Linked DNA regions of Homo sapiens: region 1 is linked to region 2. The links are contacts of gene promoters, found by promoter capture Hi-C in human tissues and cell types (Jung and others, 2019). All regions are on one chromosome and are shown on one strand. Each heading gives the region's core, a stretch centred on a gene start or on the middle of the fragment in contact. The rest is flanking DNA. Distances are from core to core; before and after follow the strand shown.

Region 1 (6,224 bases), core at 3,283-5,782, 150 kb after region 2:
TTGTTATAGTTTACCTTTTCATTTTTTGAATTCTGCCTTTTTTGAACAGTATTTTTTTTTTTTTTTTTTTTTGAGATGGAGCCTCACTCTGTCGCCCAGGCTAGGGTGCAGTGGCACGATCTCCACTCACTGCAACCTCCCCCTCCTAGGTTCAAGCGATTCTCCTGCCTCAGCCTCCTGAGTAGCTGGGACTACAGGCATACACCACCATGCCCAGCTAATTTTTTTGTACTTTTAGTAGAGACAGGATTTCACCATGTTGGCCAGGATGGTCTCGATCTTTTGACCTTGTGATCTGCCCGCCTCGGCCTCCCAAAGTGCTGGGATTACAGGGGTGAGCCGTGCCCAGCCTGTTTTGTTTTGAGACAGAGTCTTGCCCTGTCTCCCAGGCTGGAGTGCAATGGCACAATCTCGGCTCACTGCAACCTCTGCCTCCTCCCGGGTTCAAACGATTCTCCTGCCTCAGCCTCCCGAGTAGCTGGGATTACAGGCGCCTGCCACCACACCCAGCTAATTTTTGTATTTTTAGTAGAGACAGTTTCACCATGTTGGCCAGGATGGTCTCAAACTCCTGACCCCATCGTCTGCCCACCTCGGCCTTCCAAAGTGCTGGAATTACAGGCGTGAGCTACCACGCCCAGGCTGAGTTCTCAGGTTTCTTATGGATTCTTTAGAATTCTCTATATGTACGATCATGTCATCTGCAAACATGGACAATTTTACTACATCTTTCTTTCTAATTTGGATGCCTTTTATTTATTTCACTTCCTTAATTGCTCTGGCCAGGACTTCCAGTAGTAAGTTAAGTAGAAGTAGTAAGAGCAGGAATCCTTGCCTTGTTCTTAATTTTAGAGGAAAAGCTTTCAGTTTTTCACTGTTGACTGTATGTTAGCTATGGCCTTTTCCTATTGGCCTTTACTGTGTTGAGATACATTCCATGTAACCTAATTTGTTGAGATATTTTTCCTTATGAAAGGGTGTCAAATTTCATCAAATGCCTTTCCTGCATATTCCAATTTCCAAAAGCTGAGTTGTGCTGCCATTGGGTTTCAGAGCCACATAAAATGATTTTTATCCTTCATTATGTTAATGCAGTAAATCACATTAATTGATTTTCATATATTGATCCCTCCTTGCATCTCAGGGATAAATCCCACTTGATTATGGTGTCTGATTATTTTAATGTGCTGTTAAATTCAATTTGCTAATACTTTGCTAAGGATTTTCGCATCTATGTTCATCAGGGATATTGGCCAATAGTTTCTTCTTGTGCTGTCTTTGGCATTGGTGTCAGGGTAATGCTGGCCTCATAAAATGAGTTTGGAAGTGTACTCTCCTCTTCAGTGTTCAATTTCCACGTATTTGTGAATTTTCCAGTTTTCCTTCTGGTGTTGACTTCTAGTTTCATTCCACTTAGCTCAGAAAAGATACTTGATATGATCTTCTTAAATTTGTTATTTGATCTTTTTCCTTAGCTTCAGCTGGCTCTCCTAAACTGTGAATTATCTTAGAAAAGACTGTATTTTCCAGGAATTAAGTCTACTGGAGACATGGCAGGACTCTATAGCCACCCAGATCTAGATAAAATTATAATTGATCTATACCCGAGAATATTTTATGTGGGCTTGAGAATGATGTGTATTCTGTTGCTATTGGGTGAGATGTTCTGTATATGCCTGTTAGGCCTATTTGGTCTTCAGTGTTGTTTAAGTCTTGATTTTACTAATTGATCTTCTGTCTGCATGTTCTATCCATACAGAAAGTTAGGAATTGAAGTCTCCTATTATTATTATAAAGTGTCTATTTCTCCCTTTATTCCTGCCAATGTTTGCTTTATATATTTAGGTGTTCTTATGTTTGGTTCATATATATTTATAATTGTTATATTTTCCTGATGAATTAACCCATGTATCATTATATAATGTCCTTTGCTGTCTCTTACGGTAGTTTTTGACTTAAAGTCTATTTTGTCTAATATAAGTGTAGCCACCTGACTCACTTCTGGTTACTATTTGCATGGAATATCTTTTTCCATTCATTCACTTTCAAACAATGTATGTCCTTAAATCTAAAGTGAGTTTCCTGTAAACAGAATATAGTTGGGTAATTCTTTTTATCCATCCAGCTACTCTGTGTCTTTTGATTGAGAAATTTAATCTATTTATATTTAAAGTAATTATCGATAGGGAAGGATTTACAATTTTTTTTTGTTCATTGCTGTTAGTCTAGTTCTGTTAGTTTCTGAAGAAATGATATTCTTAGTTTTGTGTTCCTACTGCTCCCATATCCCTACTAGTAACCCCTCCGATTTTACTTTTGATATATTCACCCATCACTCCTACTATATTGTAAATTCCTTTGAGGCAATAGATGCCTTTCAGCTATATGTCACTAGGCTCAAGCACAATGTCTAGTGTAGAATCAACTCTGAATAAGTATTTAGTAAAATAATATGTCTAAGCTAAGGGAAATGCTTACATTTTTCTTTTTCCCCCAGCTTCAGCTGGTTCTCCTGAACCTTGAATTATCTTAGGAAAGATTGTATTTTCAGGAATTAAGTCTATTGGAGACACAGCAGGACTCCACAGCCAGCTAGATTTGGATAAAATGGTAAGGACTGTAATTTGCTATTTTAGGGTTTTATACTAGAGCCAGACCAATTACTTTTCCAAATAGACCTTATCTAGGTATTTTCTTGAAAAAATGATCTTTTCTGAATTTTCATGGAGCATGAAAACACTTCTATATAATATGTGACATCCTAGTCTTAAAATTTCCAATAATCACAAAGGAGCCATGAGCTTTTTCTTCCTTTTTTTCTTCTAGACATAAGGGCCTCTATACCATACCCATCCTCTTTGGTCGAGGTGTGAATATGTGGGGATGATTTTCTTAAGTCTAAATGAAAGAGAAAGACACAAATGAGACATTTAATTATTTTCAACCAAATTTGTTAATTTTGTTTCCCTAACACACATCGGGGGTGGTCTGGCGTACGACCAAATCAGAGTGATGGAAGAGGAGCACAGAGGGAAAAGGCAAGGGAGGGTCACCCATCCCTTCCTCCTTTGAGCTTCCCTTCCTCATGGCTGCTATCCTTTACATCAAAACACAGAGATGTCAGATGTCAGCCTGTGCAGTTGTAAAGTGTGGCTATGCCACCTCCTATTTGCTGAGCCATAGAACTTTGAAAAGTTACATCTGCCTCAACACAGCACCACTTATAGAAAGAAGTCAATTCTTCTTCCACCGTTGACTAAAATAGAAAAGACATGTAAGCAGAGAGGATCAATGAACAAAAGGAAGGCATTCTCTCTCTCTCTCTCTATATATATATATATACACACACGTGATGTATATATGTATATATATACACATACATATACATTATATGTGTGTGTATATATATATACACATATAACATATATGTGTGTGTATATATATATGTGTGTGTGTGTTTATCAGTCTAGGAAAGAAAGAAAAGGGCCCACTGAGGCAAATGGGCTGGACCAAAGGAGGCAGCTACAGGCAGCAAGGGGTCCTGCCAGCGTAAGATGGCAGGAAAACTGGCCCATAGCTTGGTTCTACCAGACTGAGAAGTTGAAACTGGGTATGGTGTGGTGGATATACTTACTGATCTTTTTCTTCTTTCCACAGTAGACTGCCTCAAGGCCAGTGTGTTGACTTCTGACCAGTCTCATCTGAACCCACACCCTTTAACATATATACAAAACACCTGAAGGGTTGGGCTGCCAGCTTTCTTTAGGATGATAGAGGGCAGGTTAAGTTTGTTTGACATAACTAGAAGAGGTGGAGCCTCTTCCTAATGGAGCAAGGTCCATTTATGGCAAACTGTGGTCCCCCACCACTATCAGCTACTTCTGGATAGCTTTTGCTTAAAGTTGATGAGATATTGTTTCTTTCACTAGAAGAAAATGAATGAGTTGGTGATCCCAAACTTTGGCCTCCAAAGGAAGCCTGGGCAGGTGACAAATGTGTCCTAAGCGAGACTGCTGCTTCCATGCTCATGCTGGAGGTACATTTGCCCTGAAAGATGGAGCAAAAGTGCTGAAGCTTAGCACAGAGGATTAATGAATAAGAACAAGGCTATGTTATATCATATTTGTATAGCAATCTGGAAAAGAAAGAACGGGGCTTGTTAAGGCAAATGGGCAAGACAAAACGGGATATCTATAGGCAGCAAGGGGTCCTGCCAGTCTAAGACTAATGGAAAACTGGCCCATAGCCAGGTATTTTCTCAATGGTGTTCACTACACCAAGTCAGAGGGCTACTTTGTCTAGATAGAGCCCAGGTATTGTGAGTGAGTGCAGGAATAGAAGTGTCTTCCTAAAGGTGTATGTATGGTGTTCTCCTGGGAGACTGTAACAGATGTGCCCTGGGCAAGACCACGCCAGCAGCTGTCAATGATGCTGAGCATACAAATACCCTGGAGCCCAGGAATGGGGCTGCCTCCGCCCAGTGTATCACCTGTGCTCCAGACTGTGTACCCCAGGTCCTCTGCCAGTAGCATCTCCAATCACAGGTGAAATGCCAGCCCTTCAAACAGCACAGGTGGGCCCTAGGTGTCTGATGGAAGGAATGAACAGATATATCACGTGGCATGCATTTCTTCTCAGTGGTGCAGGTATCTCCAGCAGGTTTGCTCTGGCCAGGTGGGCCCCAGTACTTAGACCATATGCAGGAAGAGAAGACTCTCTAAAAATAGGTATGATGTTGGCCCCTTCCATTGCAACACACGTGCCCTGGACAGGTGGGATTCAGGTGTTCTGGCTATAGGTAGGAACATAAAGGCATCCGAGCATAGATGCAGTGCTGGTCCCTTAGACTGCAACAGGTGTACTTTAGTTAGGTGTGCCCCAGGTGGCTTGACTGGGGCAGGAAGAGAAGGATCTCAGCACAGGTATGGTGCTGGTCCCTTCCACTGGAACACAAGTGCTCTGGCCAAACAGGTCCCAGGTGATCTGAACAAAAGGGGGAACAGCCATGTCTTCTGAAACACTCCTTCTCAGTGATCACAAATCTTCCAGTAGTAGTAGGCGTGTTTTGGCTGGGCTGGCACCAGGTGCTCTAACTACAGGTGGGAAGGAAAGTGTTTCCCAGGGCAGATTTGATTTGCTCTCAGCAGTGCCGGCTTCTCCAATTGCAGCAGGAGTGCATCAGGGCTGACAGGACCCTGGCGCTCAGGTCTAAGCCTCCCCCATCATGAGCTGTGGTACTGGCTGTCCCCCAGCCATTTTGCTCCAAAGCTAAGCGATCTAGATGTGGTGGTAGACTCTGCGTGGTAGACCCAATGACCCCAAAGCTTTTGCTATCCATAAGGGCTTCAGATCCCACAAATACAAATTGGCTTGGATTGGCATCAGCAAGAAATGAGCAACAGTCCTCAGTGTTGTGCTTTCTGGTAGCATTTCATGGCAAGAGTAAGAGTGTCCACACCAATGGGTAAAACACCCGAGGCACCACCATGGGCTGCCTGAATGCTGACATTGATGCCAAAGTGGACACGGGAGTGTTTAGTTCCCAAAAGCCAACTGAGTTGTGCTGCCATTGGGTTCTAGGGCTGCAGTAGAGGTTAAGTGTGAAGGGTTTTCAGGGGCTGGCAGGTTTCTCAAAGGGAAACAGCTGTTAACATTGCAGGGAGAGACAGGATGATAACAGATGGGGACATGGGCATGGTACCCATGTTGATTTCCTTAGAGGCAAAGTCAGGCGGAGACACCAAGTCTGAAGACGGGTTGTATACTGGAGTGGAGGTGACTGCAGAATCAGTGGTAGGTGGGCCAGAAAAGACAGGGCACTGGGGGGAGTGGTTCTCTGGCAAGGCCCTGAATCAGGACCCCCAGATTTCAGCTGGTAAGTGTTTCCTGAATCAAAAGCAAGCTTAGAAGTTCAAGTAGGGCTGCTGACCATAAAAGCAGGTGGGCTGGTGGGGATGATGGCCTTTGCAGGGGATATCCGCTCCACACTGGGATGGGCCTGGTCCAATGGGAGGAAGCTCACCCCGGATCTTGAGGGAGACCTGAAGAAGAAAGCTTGGAAGGAAGAGTACTATCCACATCAATTATAACACAGTCCAGGCAGGCTGGGAAGTCCAGTCTGCAGACAGGCTGCCTGGCATGCTAGAAGTGACTGCAGAAGCAGTGATGGGTTGGCTGGTAAAGACAGGGGTACTGGTGCAAGCAACTTGAGGAGGGGTCTGTAA
Region 2 (5,803 bases), core at 3,304-5,803:
GACTCTGTATTAAAAAAAAAAAAAAATTGAAAGCTCAGTGGCTCCCATCAAGGCATGAGGAAACACTCTCTTCCCCAAAAGAGGCCCCAGTGGGCCAGACCAGCCCAACTACTGCCGGCTGACCCCTGCCTGTCCTGCGAGGGGTTCTCAGGCCTGCCCCCCAACTCTGCCCAGGACCACTCTCCAGGTTCCAGCAGGAGGTCTTGGCTCCCGACAGCCACTGGGCTGGTCTTGCTTGCTTTGTTTTCAGCTGTGCCTGCCAGGGCTCTAGGCCATGCAGAATGCAGCCTAGAGGCCTTGGCACATCTGGTGGGACAGGAAGCAATGCCACTATGTATGTGTCTCCTAGGGTGAGAGGAAGAACCTCCTTCCATGCTGTGTGGTTCAGAGGACTTCAGCGCCTCCAGTGGGACAGGAAGCATCTGCATCCTGGGGTTCCCCCAGTATGAGAGGCATCCTCCCTGCATGTCTCTACTGGGACAGGCAGCATCCTCATCTGGCCCACGGTGTGGGACGCATCCTCATCCTCCCTGCGTGTCTCTACTGGGACAGGCAGCATCCTCATCTGGCCCAGGGTGTGGGACGCATCCTCATCCTCCCTGCGTGTCTCTACTGGGACAGGCGGCACGTCAACATCAATTCTTTGATCCCAGCAGCAGGGCTATTTCCCTTGGTAAGCCAGACCTCCCCCACCCCTACATCTCCCTGAGACTCTCTGCCCCTGCTTCTCCAGGCCCCTCTGGATGCCTTGGGTCTTCTCATAGGTCAGTTCTTCCGCCTCCACCATTTGGCTGCAAAGACCCCCACGCGTAACACCTTTGGCTCTCTGGCTCTGAAAATCCACTCAACTGGTGGCTCCGTGTCTCGGGCCTCATCTTACATGACTGCAGCTTCCTGTATAAATGCTCTCCTCTTTGGACTTCTGGGACACCAGGCGCACCTGATTTTCCTTCCCGCCTCTGAGGCTGCTGTCTTCACCCACCCTCTACCTACTCCGTAAAATCCAGAGTTTGTAGGGCTGGCCGCAGCCTCCCCCTGCTCCTCCTTGCCCCTAAGTCTGTCTCACCCACCTCTGTGGACTCAGTTTCCCCTCTGTCCCCAGCCCTAGACCCTCTTCCAGGTCCCAGGTCAGGGCTCCTGCAGTCCTTTAAATACCTTTTAAATACCTTTCCCTGGGACCTCCTAGTCCCTTTGCCCCTACCAGGTCCCAGAATGTCTCCCCAATGTCTCCCCAAGTATATTCTTCCTCCCGGTCCTGTCTCAGAGGCCCTCACTCCTAGGACCATCCCCATCTGCATAACATTCCCCTCCCCCGACAGCCTGCCAATCCTCCTGAGTGACTCTCCTTCCCCCGTTTCCTTCTTTCTCTCCATCTGCACCTTGCTCCGGCCCCATCCAACCGCTGGGCTCAGTCTCCCTTCTAGCGCACCCTCCACACGGAGGCTTGGGGAACCTACTGAGACACCAAATCCAACCTGTCCCCTCTTTACCTATAGAACCCTCTGTGACTCCCTAGTACCCCCCAGACAGCTTAAGTCCCTCAGCCTGGCATTTCCAGCCCCACTAGGGTATAAGCATGGCTTTCAGAGATTTGGGAGTATGTTTCCCCCAATTCTCAGACAACCATGTGGGTCACTATCAGGTACCAGAGAGAGCTTCCAAAAAGCAACCCAAACAGTAGAACTTGTAAAATACAAGTTAGACAAGAGAAGCAGGGACTAACCACTGGCGCCACCTTGTGGAGAGACCTGGTACTGCAAGGAATTGGCCAGCTCTTCCCCAAAACAGTCCCACCCCTGCCTGGTCCAGCTTGCACACCTCTTCTCCCACCCAGCTCAACTTCCAGCTTCACCTCCAGAAATACCACAATTGGCTACGTGCACACCAGTGCTGTGTCACCTCCCAGCTTCCCAGAGAAGAGCAAGAGCCTTGCTCTTCCCTCTGCCTGGCATCCTTGGAATTGCAACTCCAGTATCACCTCCTCCAATTCCAAGTTTCCAGGCAGCACCAAGAAGCCAGCAGCAATAACAGTGACACCAACAACAGCAGCCGCTGCAGCCACAACGGCTCTCTGAATCACACACGGACGCACCGCCCTACCCTAACCCCGTCCAGTCCTGCACAGCATCCTTACTTAAATCCTTGCAGCTGTTCACGAGGAAGGCGCCATTGCCATCACCCCCAGTTTACAGATGAGAAAAGGAGGCCCAAAGTCCGGCAGCCACCAAACCCGGGTCACCCGGCAAGTAAGTGCAGAATCGGAACCCTTCAGCATCTGTGTCCAGGTTCGACCTCCACACCCCTAGCCCTGACAGCAGGACTCCCCTCCAAGACCAGCCCGGAGCTGCCAGGGAGGCACCAGAGCCCACTTTGTGTCTGTTTCTCTTTGTACCCAGGCCATCTCTGTCCATTCGGGCATTTTCTGCTTTTCTTCCCTGGCTCATTCACCCATGGGCCCAAGCCCTGGGGCTGTCCTTCCGGCAGCTCCAGGAAAGAGATTGTCCCCAAGGAGCTGGATTCTGTCATCCACCTGCTCGGCTAGGGTGCAATGCCTTCTCCTGAGTAACTGGGAGCCTGGGTTCCCTCTGGACTGCAGCTGATTGGTTTGGGGTCTGAATTGCCAGCTGTGCCGAGACCCGAGGAGGCCAGAGATCTGAACTAATCATTTCAGCCAACACGCTCAGTGCTTCCTGCCCATCCTGGCATTTCAGGCCTCGCCCCACGCTGTTGGACATGCACTGTCACCCTCTCCATTTCACAGATGAGAGAATGGAGGCCCAGGGAGAACACGCCGTCTGCCCAGGGCCACACAGCTAGAAAGTGCTACTGCCCAGGACTGAGCCCGGCTATCCTGGTTGCGGAAGAAGAGAGGGAGTCAGCCCCAGCTAGGGGAAGGCAGAAAGAACAGGACGCCCCTCCATGCGCCCCTCCAGCTGGGTCCCATGTGTGAGAGGTAGAAAGGAAGCCAGGCTAGCTGGGGGCTGCCCAGAGACTCCCAAGGGCCAGCAACTCCATGACGCAGTCTCTCTCTCTCATCCTTATGGTGGTTTCTCTGCCGTCTCTCCCCTCTCCATCCATCCAGGCCCAGTCCAAAGTCCTCCCTCTGCTCTTTTGCCCACAGAGCCAGGAGGTGGAGGAATGTCTGGGATCGGTGGGGGTCCTGGGTCTCTGGGACTCCGAGTTTGCCAACCTCTGTCATGACAGCTCTGCTTGATGGCATGCGTCTTATATGCAGAGCCCCAGACCAGTGCCTGGTGTGTGTCATGCACTCAGCAACCTCACAGAGGGAGGACTGGTATCCATGCTTGACCCAGAGGGAGACCAAAGCCCTAAGAATAATGTCACTTGCACCAGATCACACAGCAAAAAAGATGGCAAGAGCAAATTCAAATGCAAGCCTGTGTGTTTCACTCCAAATCTGTGTCCTTAACCATGACAGCTACAGCTTCCCCGCCTCAGCCCCAGCAGAGGACAAGTCCAGAGTTAGCTGAGAAATCACTGGGGGATGAGGGGAAACTGAGGCAGCACGCCAGGAAGGTCACATAGGGTAGAAGGGAGGCTGGTGGTGGCACAGCTGCACAGAAAATGTGGTTAATAGTTAATCAGGTGGAGGAGGACTAACAGGGGTGGGGATGCATCTGGGAGGGGTGCCCAGAGAGAGGGGGCTCCGAAGAGTAGAGGGTAGAGAAAAGAGCACAGAGGGCGGGGCGCCAGGCAGAGCCAAAGCTGGGGCTCAGGGAAGGGGACTCACCCTCCTTCTGCGCCATGTCACTGCCTCTTGTTAATGATTCCCTGGCTGACCTCCTGGGCCAGGGTGGGACCTGTGAGGAGATGGACGGGGAGGCAGGGCCTGGGGGAGCCCAGCCCAGCCCAGTCCTGGCGCCCCCAGTCCCAGGCGTCCATCCAGGCAGGCTGTAGGGACTGGGCCTTGGCCAGAGCACGCCGTGATCACGGACGCAGATTGGGCTGGGTTCAAGGATGGGGTCAGTGTCTGACCAGCAGCGGGGGGACGCCTGGATTTGCAGGGATGGGGACCCCCATGCCTGAGCCTGGTGGAGCAGGGGACTGAGGATCCCGGTTTGAGGGAGGAGACAGCTGAGGACCTGAAATCATAAGTCTTGGGAAAGGAGGAATTTGGGGGCCAGGACTCCCTAGTATGAGGGAGGAGGGGCCTGAGGGCTGGAACTCCTGGGTCTGGGGAGGAAAGGACTGGGGTCCAACGGCTGAGTCTGAAGGAAGAGCAGGACAGAACACCTAGGTGCTTGGGGGGACGTCATAGTGCCCCCTCTTCAGGTCCCCAGGAACCCCTCTATTAGGAGGTGGGCATTAGGCTGGGTGGGGGGATGAGGGAACCCCTGTCCTCAGGGCTGGAACTGTGAGTCTGGGGGCCCTTGTCCTTACCCTGGGGTCCAGCAGGTGGGGGCGGAGCCTCGAGGTAGTGCCGGGGTCGGGTCAGTCTCCAGGCCTGGGCAGGAGCATGGTGGCCCCGCAGCAGCGGGCGGCCTGGAGGCAGAGGCGGTGGCGTGGGGCCTGCTAGGCCAGGCTGCCTCACCTGAGGAGGAGGGGGCTGGGCGAGGGGCGGGTGAAGGGGCGGGGAGGGGCCGGACCATTCGATTGGCAGCACTGGAGGCCACCTGGCTGATGGGGCCGGGCTTGTGGGGGCTGGACCAGGCGGGCCCAGCTACGGGGCTTGCCTTGGACCTCCAGGGGGACCCAGGTGTGCCTGTCTGCGGGGATGTGGGAACAGGGACAGGCCTGGCCGGAGGCTGGGGGTTTAGGGAGAAAGTGCAGGCTGAAGGGTGGGGGTCTGACCAGAAGAGATCAGATGGAGGGCCCCAGCTGCCCTAAGCCCACTCCACCCTCACCCAGCGAACCCTTCCCCCCGCCCTTTCTGCGTCCTCCAGCCCCAGGTCCTGGCTGTGCCCGCCACTTGCTGCACCTCTGCCTAATTCCCTGCCCAATTCCTGGGCCCCAACCCCAGCCCCAGCCTCTCCCGCCTGCCCTGCTCATCCTGCCCCGGCCCCTCCCCCGCTGGCTTCCTACAAGTCACGGGGCTGGTTTGCTTTGGCAGCCTCCGCCCGGCCGCGGTGACCTCTGGAGCCAGAAAGTCCTAGCACTAGATAGGGGGGATGGGGGGCTTGGCCGGGAAAACACAGCGCTAAGGGCAGAGGCCCAGGCCAAGTGGCCGGAAGCGTCCGCAGGCAGATAACACACTGTCCCGCCAGCAGCCAGGCGCGGCCCACGTCAGACCCAGGGCCAGGTAAACACCAGACGTGCAGGGTCACCGCCAGACACCTGCCCGTGCTCAACCACACGCCGGACACAGTCGGCCTCGGCTGCTTGCCCCAGATAGGCCACCCGCACAACCGGCCCCACCCGCTTACCCACACGTGCCCGCTGTGCCCAGCCAAACCCACCTCCACCGCACCCATTTCCTCCACTCAGCCCAGGGCCCCTCATTGGGACACGCTGGTTTAGCCTGGCTTCCTCTGCCTTTCCATCCATACCCGTCTCTCCTTCCCTCTCCTTCTCCCCAGCGCCCACCTCTCCAGAGACTCACACTGCTGGGCACACCACACACCCCATGCCACCCCTGCACCCCAGCATCAGCCTCGATTCTCTTCCCTCCACGGCACCCCCTCCCTTCCTGGCTCCGTTCCACTCTCCCTCACCCCTGAGCCCATGGCTCCCCCAACCCCGACACAGATCAGGCACTAAGTGGCTTCACCTGTGGGCCCTCAGGTAGGGTCCCTGGAAAGCGGGCTCGAAGATTCGGGGACGGGAATGGGGGGAAGGTGACGGG

What was found. The method cuts DNA at HindIII sites, captures the fragments that hold promoters and counts their contacts. A contact is called where the count stands out against the background at its distance.
Region 1: a contact is called between a fragment that was not itself captured here and the fragment with the promoter of HPN in region 2, in 1 of the 25 tissues and cell types used here (lymphoblastoid cells).

What each region holds. Positions count from the first base shown.
Region 1 is chr19:34,889,730-34,895,953 of GRCh38, reverse strand. It overlaps LINC00904 (long intergenic non-protein coding RNA 904), which reads left to right. Exons shown (of 6, transcript NR_187844.1): 5 at 2,498-2,610; 6 at 3,658-4,122. Among named protein-coding and RNA genes, the nearest start is that of LINC00904, 12 kb to the left of the region's middle. The HindIII fragment of the contact is 4,130 bases long and covers 2,468-6,224 here.
Region 2 is chr19:35,040,471-35,046,273 of GRCh38, reverse strand. HPN (hepsin) reads right to left here and starts at 4,553. Exons shown (of 13, transcript NM_001384133.1): 1 at 4,402-4,553; 2 at 3,752-3,821. The coding sequence starts at 3,767. RefSeq lists an enhancer at 5,082-5,803. The HindIII fragment of the contact is 10,578 bases long and covers 1-5,803 here.